Regions from separate parts of the Homo sapiens genome. Here region 1 is linked to region 2. The links are contacts of gene promoters, found by promoter capture Hi-C in blood cells and fetal thymus (Javierre and others, 2016). All regions are on one chromosome and are shown on one strand. The core of a region is centred on a gene start or on the middle of the fragment in contact, and the rest is flanking DNA. Distances in the headings are between cores, read along the strand shown.

The links. The method cuts DNA at HindIII sites, captures the fragments that hold promoters and counts their contacts. A CHiCAGO score of 5 or more calls a contact.
Region 1: a contact is called between a fragment that was not itself captured here and the fragment with the promoter of OCA2 in region 2, in 2 of 17 cell types (M0 macrophages and M1 macrophages). The highest score is 6.2, in M0 macrophages.

What each region holds. Positions count from the first base shown.
Region 1 is chr15:28,259,477-28,263,081 of GRCh38, reverse strand. HERC2 (HECT and RLD domain containing E3 ubiquitin protein ligase 2) reads left to right here. Exons shown (of 93, transcript NM_004667.6): 15 at 1-164; 16 at 2,112-2,305. Among named protein-coding and RNA genes, the nearest start is that of HERC2, 61 kb to the left of the region's middle. The HindIII fragment of the contact is 1,424 bases long and covers 1,326-2,749 here.
Region 2 is chr15:28,097,634-28,101,346 of GRCh38, reverse strand. It overlaps OCA2 (OCA2 melanosomal transmembrane protein), which reads left to right and starts at 2,032. Exons shown (of 24, transcript NM_000275.3): 1 at 2,032-2,123. RefSeq lists an enhancer at 2,085-2,737. The HindIII fragment of the contact is 17,781 bases long and covers 1-3,713 here.

The DNA of each region.
Region 1 (3,605 bases), core at 788-3,287, 160 kb before region 2:
GCTTCAAGACTTGGATGTGGTCAAAGTCCGCTGTGGAAGTCAGTTTTCCATTGCTTTGACGAAAGATGGCCAAGTTTATTCATGGGGAAAAGGTGACAACCAGAGACTTGGACATGGAACAGAGGAACATGTTCGTTATCCAAAACTCTTAGAAGGCTTGCAAGGTGAGTGCAAATGTAAACTTTTAAAACCCTTCAGGACAGTTTCTTTAGTAATGTTTTAAAGTTAGCAGGTTTTATGTTCTTAACCTGACATTCCATGAGTTAGCAGGTTTTATGTTCTTAACCTGACATTCCATGAATGGACTGTCATTAGAAACTTTTACTGCCTGCTTGGTATAGGTATTGATACTAATTGGAAAGTGGGTGTCTATTACAAAATGACTGAAATGTAATTTAAACCTGTTGAGTTGACTTTCTGTGGCAGGCACCCATTAATCACTCAGCAGGCTGGACTCAGTAAGGGTTCCCTCTGTGTGGTGAGGTCACCTGTACTTGTACTGCAGGCACACTGAGACCATGAGTGTGCATTGTGCTGTGGAGCCACATTGGGAGGTGGGATTGGGTCCACTTGGGACACCCTCATGTGAACTCATCCTTGGTGGGTGATTCCTGCTTGCTCAGTTGCAAAGGTGTCCAGCATGCATTGTAGTTGGAGGCAAGAGATGGAAGCCAAGGTATGTAGATAAGAGTGCCGGCGCCTTCAGTGTGGGCTGCCGGTGCAGGCAGAGAGGATGGGAGTCTCTGCAAGAAGACCCTGAGATTCTTCTGTGGTGTTCTTACTAGGGATGTTATGCTGCAGGAAGTTGGGGTGGGGGCCATCAAAACTATGATGTTGGAGGGATCTTTCTAAGGTAAAACAGGACTTTTCCGTACCACCTGGCCTAGTGGTTGGGAGATAGTCTTCATCCTAATCGAGAACTGTTGAAGGGCAGACAAATTGACAAGAAAGTAGGAAGAAGGGAAAAGGCAGTGTGAGAGGTACATCAGATGGACTCTTTAGGGTTCTCTTCTCTCAGGGGTGGGCAGCCTTTTTCTTAAAGGACCAGATTGTATTTGAAGTAGGTGGACCTGGCAGTGTTCCAACACCAGTGTCTTCACAGAAGCAGGCCTTGGGCTGCGTTGTGTGTGGGGGCTGTAGTTCGTTGGGTCCTGGTACTACATACATTCTTTGTGTGTTTGGTTCTTTACCAAGTGGGTTTGGAAGTGGGACTTTTAAGTGAGACTTGCCAGTTCCCTTCTCCATTAGTTTTATTTTAAAGCAGGTTAATATTTTGATGACTGAGAGTTTTGTGCGCCCATATGGTGTTTATTGTTTTCTAAGCTTCTGAGATAAGTTGCAGAGTAAGAAGTTTACTCTGTGTCATTGAATGGTATTTGAATTTCATTTGCCTTCTTGTTTATATTCCCCTCCATTAGTATAGGAAAGCTACGACAATCATTAGTATAGAAATCATTTACTTTGAGGGTATTTAAATTACTGTTGAGAAACACCTTTTTTGTTGCTGATGTTAACTTATGGTAAGTTCCTAGGATAGAATTTTTCCCCTTACTGCAGTGTGGTTTTTCAGCTGAATTATTTTATATACTGACATTTCTGCGAAACACCCTTTGTGTTGGCCATGTTAGATTTACCAGGAAGGAAAAATAGAATATTTTGCTAAGTGTTTAAATAGAAACAATGTTTTAAATATCAGTTATATCTAACTGAGAGAACAATAGATTTCTTCTTAGGAAACCTTCCTCACTGAAGAGTGTGCTATGCATTGTTAAATCTCGGATGGGAGAATATGATCTAATAGTTAATTAAAAGCACCTTGTTTCTTTCTGACTGAAAATCTGAATGAGGAGGAGAAAAAAAAACAGATCCTTTTTGTATCCTAGTATTATGATCTTTGTAGACTGTGGGTCCTAACGAATTGTAGCTGACAAAATACAGCAGTTTTAATAACACACCCAAAGCAAATGAATTGTGCTTAATATTAAAGCAAAGCAGATTATCCTCAAGAAGTTAATGTTAAAAGCTGTCTGACCTGAATGGCCTAGGAAATATCTTTCTTGCAGCGGAAGTCATAGGCTTGAAGCTGCATCTGCATCCCTCTTCCCTTGTAGGGAAGAAGGTGATTGATGTGGCTGCAGGCTCCACCCACTGCCTGGCTCTGACTGAGGACAGCGAGGTCCACAGCTGGGGGAGCAACGACCAGTGCCAGCACTTTGACACCTTGCGCGTGACCAAGCCAGAACCTGCAGCATTGCCAGGACTGGACACCAAACACATAGTGGGAATTGCCTGTGGGCCTGCCCAGGTACTGAATATAGAGCTTGATTTGGTATTTTGGAGGATTTTGGTTTCCAGTTGTTCATTACCAGTATGTAGAAAATACCACTGAGTTTTGTTTGTTGTTCTTGTGTCCTGCAGTTGTGCTAAACTCATTTATTATGAGCTTCACTGTAGTTTCCTTGGGTTTTCTTCATGGACAATTAAATGCTATCTGTATAGAGGGGCAGTTTCATTTCTTCCTTTCCAGTCTGCTCGCCTTTTATGTCTTTTCCCGGCCTGATTGCCCTGGCCAGGACTTGCAGTGTGAAGCTGAATAGGAGAGGTGACAGTGGGCACCCTGCCTTGATCCTGACTGTAGGGGAAGGCAGTTCAGTCTTTCACCATCAACTGTGATGTTAGCTGTGGGTATTTATGTAGATGCCTTATTATCAGATTAAGGGAGTGTCTTTAATTCCCCGTTTTAGAAGCTTCTAAAAAATCCTGACTGGATGTTAAAATTTGTTAAATGCTTTTAATCTTCTCAAATGAAATGGTCATGCAGTTTTCCTTCTTTAGTGTGTTAGTATGGTGTATTACATGATGCTTTTTACTTTTCTTTTTCTTAAACATTTTTTTTTTTTCTTTTTTGGAGATACGGTTTCACTATGTTGCCCAGGCTGGTCTCGAACTCCTGAGCTCTAGCGATCTGCCTGCCTTGGCCTCCCAAAGTGCTGGGATTACAGGTGTGAGGCACTGCACCAGCCTGATTTTTAAATACTGATCAAGCCTTGTGTTACTTGGATAGGCATCACTTGGCCACAATTTACTACTCTTTTTTTTTTTTTTTTTTTTTGCCAGATGGAGTCTCACTCTGTCACCCAGACTGGAGTGCATTGGTGCAATCTCAGCTCTCTGCAACCTGTGCCTCCTGGGTTCACGCAATTCTCCTGCGTCAGCCTCCTGAGTAGCTGGGATTATAGGTGTGCACTACCATGCCTGGCTAATTTTTGTATTTTTTTTTTTTCTTTTTAGTGGAGATGGGGTTTCACCATGTTGGCCAGCCTGGTCTCCAACTCCTGACCTCAAGTGATCCATCCTCCTTGGCATCCCAAAGTGCTGGGATTACAGGTGTGAGCCACTGTGCCTGGCCCTATTCTGTTTCTGTATTGCAAAATTTGACTTGCTAACAGGTTGTTGAGGATTTTTCTGTTGATGCTCATTAGAGATGTTGGTTTGTGGTTTTCTTTCTTTGTGTTATACTATCTTGTCTGACTTTCTATCAGGGGAAAGCTGACCTTATACAAAATATTGGCATGTGTTCCGTCCTTTTTCATTTTCTATAAGGG
Region 2 (3,713 bases), core at 783-3,282:
TCACCCCTCAGCTGCCGCCAGGGCTGGGACACATAGATTTGGCTCACCCGAGCCAGTCCCTGGCATGGAAGTTGGGTTTCCTCCATTACTGTGGCCACTCAGGGTCTATCCCTGGAGCTGGGGTAGGGTTGCTCCTTCCCCATACATTCAGCAGTTACACAAAAACAACTGTGACCTGCAAGGCACAGAGAGCCACACGCTTGGCCGCAGCTGTCCTGCTGGCGTTTCAAAGCCCGCATTTCGACAGATCTGCGTGCACACCAAGAGCCTTCTGCCCACTCAGGGAGCCTCCCCCGGGCTCTGTGCCCCAGCCCCTTCCCGCCCTGTAACAGTGTCCCTGAGGCACTGGGAGGGGAGCAGGTGCAGTGATGAGCGAGGAGGAGACAGTATTTCTGGGACGGGAACTGGTGCATCGGTGGTCACAGGCTCCCTGGAGCCGCCATCCCACAAGGATGGGGGTCACCATGCAGGCTGCTTGCCAGCCATATCCACACCTAACGCACACGGCGGTCTGAACTGAGGGGTCTGCACATGCGACAGTGAATGTGGTCTCAGAGATCTCGGGCTCTCCTGCTGTCAGGGCCCTGGCTGGGAACTTCAGTGTCCTGGAGCCTGCCATGCCGAGGACATCCTCGGTCCCTGCTACCAGGGCAACCCCTGGCCCACCCTGTGGCTGTGCAATGTGCTCTGTTATAAGGCATGAGATCTCTTTCAGCTCTGCTGTTACACTGTGGATGGAGCCTCTTACTTCCTGCCAATTCCTGTGCAGGGCCTGGCCACTGCAGCTGTGTGTGTGTCTGTAGCTGTGTTGTCTCCATGTGTTTGTGCGTGTATCTGTGTGTGTGTCTGTATCTGTGTGTGTATCTGTGTGTGTCTGTGCGTATATCTGTGTTTGTATATCTGTATATGTGTATCTGCGTGTGTGTCTGTGCATGTATCTGTGTGTGTGTCTGTATGTGTCTATGTATCTGTGTATCTCTGTGTCTGCGTATCTGTGTGTCTGTGTATCTCTGTGTGTAGATCTCTGTATCTGTGTGTATCTGTGCATGTGTGTATCTGTGTGTCTGTATCTGTGTGCCTGTGTATATCTGTGTCTGTGTATCTCTGTGTGTGTCCGTGTGTGTATCTGTGTGTGTCTCTGTATCTCTGTATCTGTATGTATCTCTGTATCTGTATCTGTGTGTCTGTACCTGTGTCTGTGTATCTGTGTCTGAGTATCTGTATATATTTGTGTGTGTCTGTGTATCTGTGTCTGTGTGTATATCTGTGTATCTGTGTGTATCTCTGTGCCTGTGTGTGTGTCTCTGTGTATCTGTGCATGTGTCTGTGTGTATCTGTGTATGTGTGTCTGTGTATCTGCATGTGTCCTTGTGTGTCATCTGTGTATCTGTGTCCTGTATCTGTGTGTCTGTGTATTGCTGTGTCTCTGTGTGTGTCTCTGTGTATGTGTATCTGTGTATCTGTGTCTGTGTATATCGTGTCTATCTCTGTATCTGTGTGTGTGTCTGTGTGTATCTGTGTGTGTCTGTGTATCTGTGTGTGTCTGTGTATCTCGTGTGTGTGTCTGTGCTGCAGGAGGGGCTGTCGGCAAGTGTAACCTTGGCGTCCTAGCTGGAGGGCCTCTCAGTGCCCGCTGGGAGAGCTCTGAAGGGAACAGAATGTTCACTGAGCATTTCCCCGTTCTTGTTCATAGGGAAAAGCCTGTCCGCAGTCCTGGGCCGCCTCTTTAGAGGTAAAGCTGGAAACTATCCCCGCGGAGAGCGCTGTCGGGGACGCCGGGGCGGCGTGGCCTTAGACGGAGCTGCTCTCAGCCCGCGCCGCCGGGGGCTGGGGAGCTGAGGGGCCGGGGGTGCGGAGCGGGCGAGCTGTGGGCGGGGCCATGTGGGCAGCTTTGTGGGCGTGGCCGGGAGGGGCGTGCTACGGGCGTGGCCGCACTGTGGGCGGGGCCGAGTGGGGAGTGCTGTGGGCGGGGCCGGGCCGGGGGCGTGCCTGGGTGGGGGACCCGCTGCGGGAGCGCCGAGCTCCCTCTGAGTTCTTACTTCGAAGGCTGTGCTCCGCTCACCATCCAGAGCGGAGGTGCGGACCTTAAACTCACTCCTGGAGAAAGATCTGCAAGTGCGCAGGTAAAGTGCACGTGCTCCGCGGTCGGGAGGAAGGAGGCGAGGAGCCAGACTAGCCTGGGAACAGGCAGGGAGGGTTTACACAGCCCCGGCTGAGTCGCGGCTTAGGAAGCAAGGCAAGTTCCCCTAAAGGTTAGTGTGCACAGACGGGTGCGACGGAGCCGACCTAGCGCGGCTGAGTCCGCCTGGGCCTGCAGCAGCTGCCCCCTGAGCACCCCCTCCGGCTCTCTGCCAGGCGACCCAGGAAAAAGTCGCCCCCTGGTGGGCCATGAGGTCATGGGTGGGGGGAGTTTGGAAAGGTTCAGACAGCAAATGTTCCACTTGAACTCCAGGGCAGCATCTGGCACTGCGGGGCCTCCTAGCCATGAGCCGTGGTCAGGCGTTTCCTTAGAATGGAATGCACTGGAGTGAAAACACTAAATCCCTCAAAGCTGCTTCTCTTTACTGTGGTCACACACAGTGAAATCAATGGGCATTAGTGCAGCTAGCTCTTTTCAAGGACACAATGTTAAGCACAGGAAGCCTGGTATGTGGACGCTCTGGGTTTGCAGAACCAGGCAGGGGCCAGGGGCTCAGGACAAGTGCCCGGTGCTCCCTTCCCATTGGGCGAATCAGAGCCTGGGGCCCGGCGGTGAAGCTCCCCAGGTGACTCTAATGTGCAGTGCACTTTGAGGAGCACTACTTAGACCAATGTGACAGTCTACAATGTGTAGATTTAGGGTGAGTGATTCTGAGGAAAAGAAACCCGAGGCTGTTAGCAGTTGTGGGCAGCTGCTGTCTACCTAAACCAGCTGCGGTTTGCTTGCTTGGTGAGCCTGAGCTTCGCGGGGCGGGCATGGCATCTGCCATCCAGGACCCTGGGACGGGGCCTGCCAGGGCAAGGAGCTGAGCATTGAACGCATCTGGGGATAACTATCTCTCATAGAAGAACTAATGAGGATTGAACCTGAACACAGAGATGAAAGAGCTGAGTAGACTGCAAAGAATTGCACAAAAACTGCTTGTTCTGCAAATTTAGTTTACAACAATTTGAGTGCAGTTCACATTGGTGTAATGTGATTTAGGATCATAAGTCCCTAAAGTTTCATTACACTGATGAAAAGCAAATGCCTATACTGTTCTTGTTTTATGAGAAGAACGCAACCTCCAGCCCCTGGAGCAGCTGAGATCTGAGGATATCAGGAATACCAGGAATGGGGAGGTCCTGGCTGTCCCTGGAAACCCAGCGGCATGACACCTGTGTCACCTGGGTCCCCGTTTCTATGCTGGAGTGGCAGGCAGCAAGGAAATATTTTGAGTTTGAGGCCATATGCATTTTGGAAAGATCACTGTGGCTGGGGGGTTGGGAGCAGCTGGGGAGTTGAAGAAAGCCACTGCCAAGGCCTTCCCACTGAGTGTGGTTGCCAGGCCGGGGCAGGGAAGCACTGGTGAGCTGCAGGGGGGATTCCCAGTTGGTGATGGGTGATGGATGGTGGGATCAGTGGGCCCCTGGGAAAGGCCAGGTGTGGCTTCAGCACTCTGGGAGTTTTGGGTACCTTTATGTCTAGGGACACAAAGAGGTAGATGGACACAGTGGTTTGAGCTGCAGAAGAG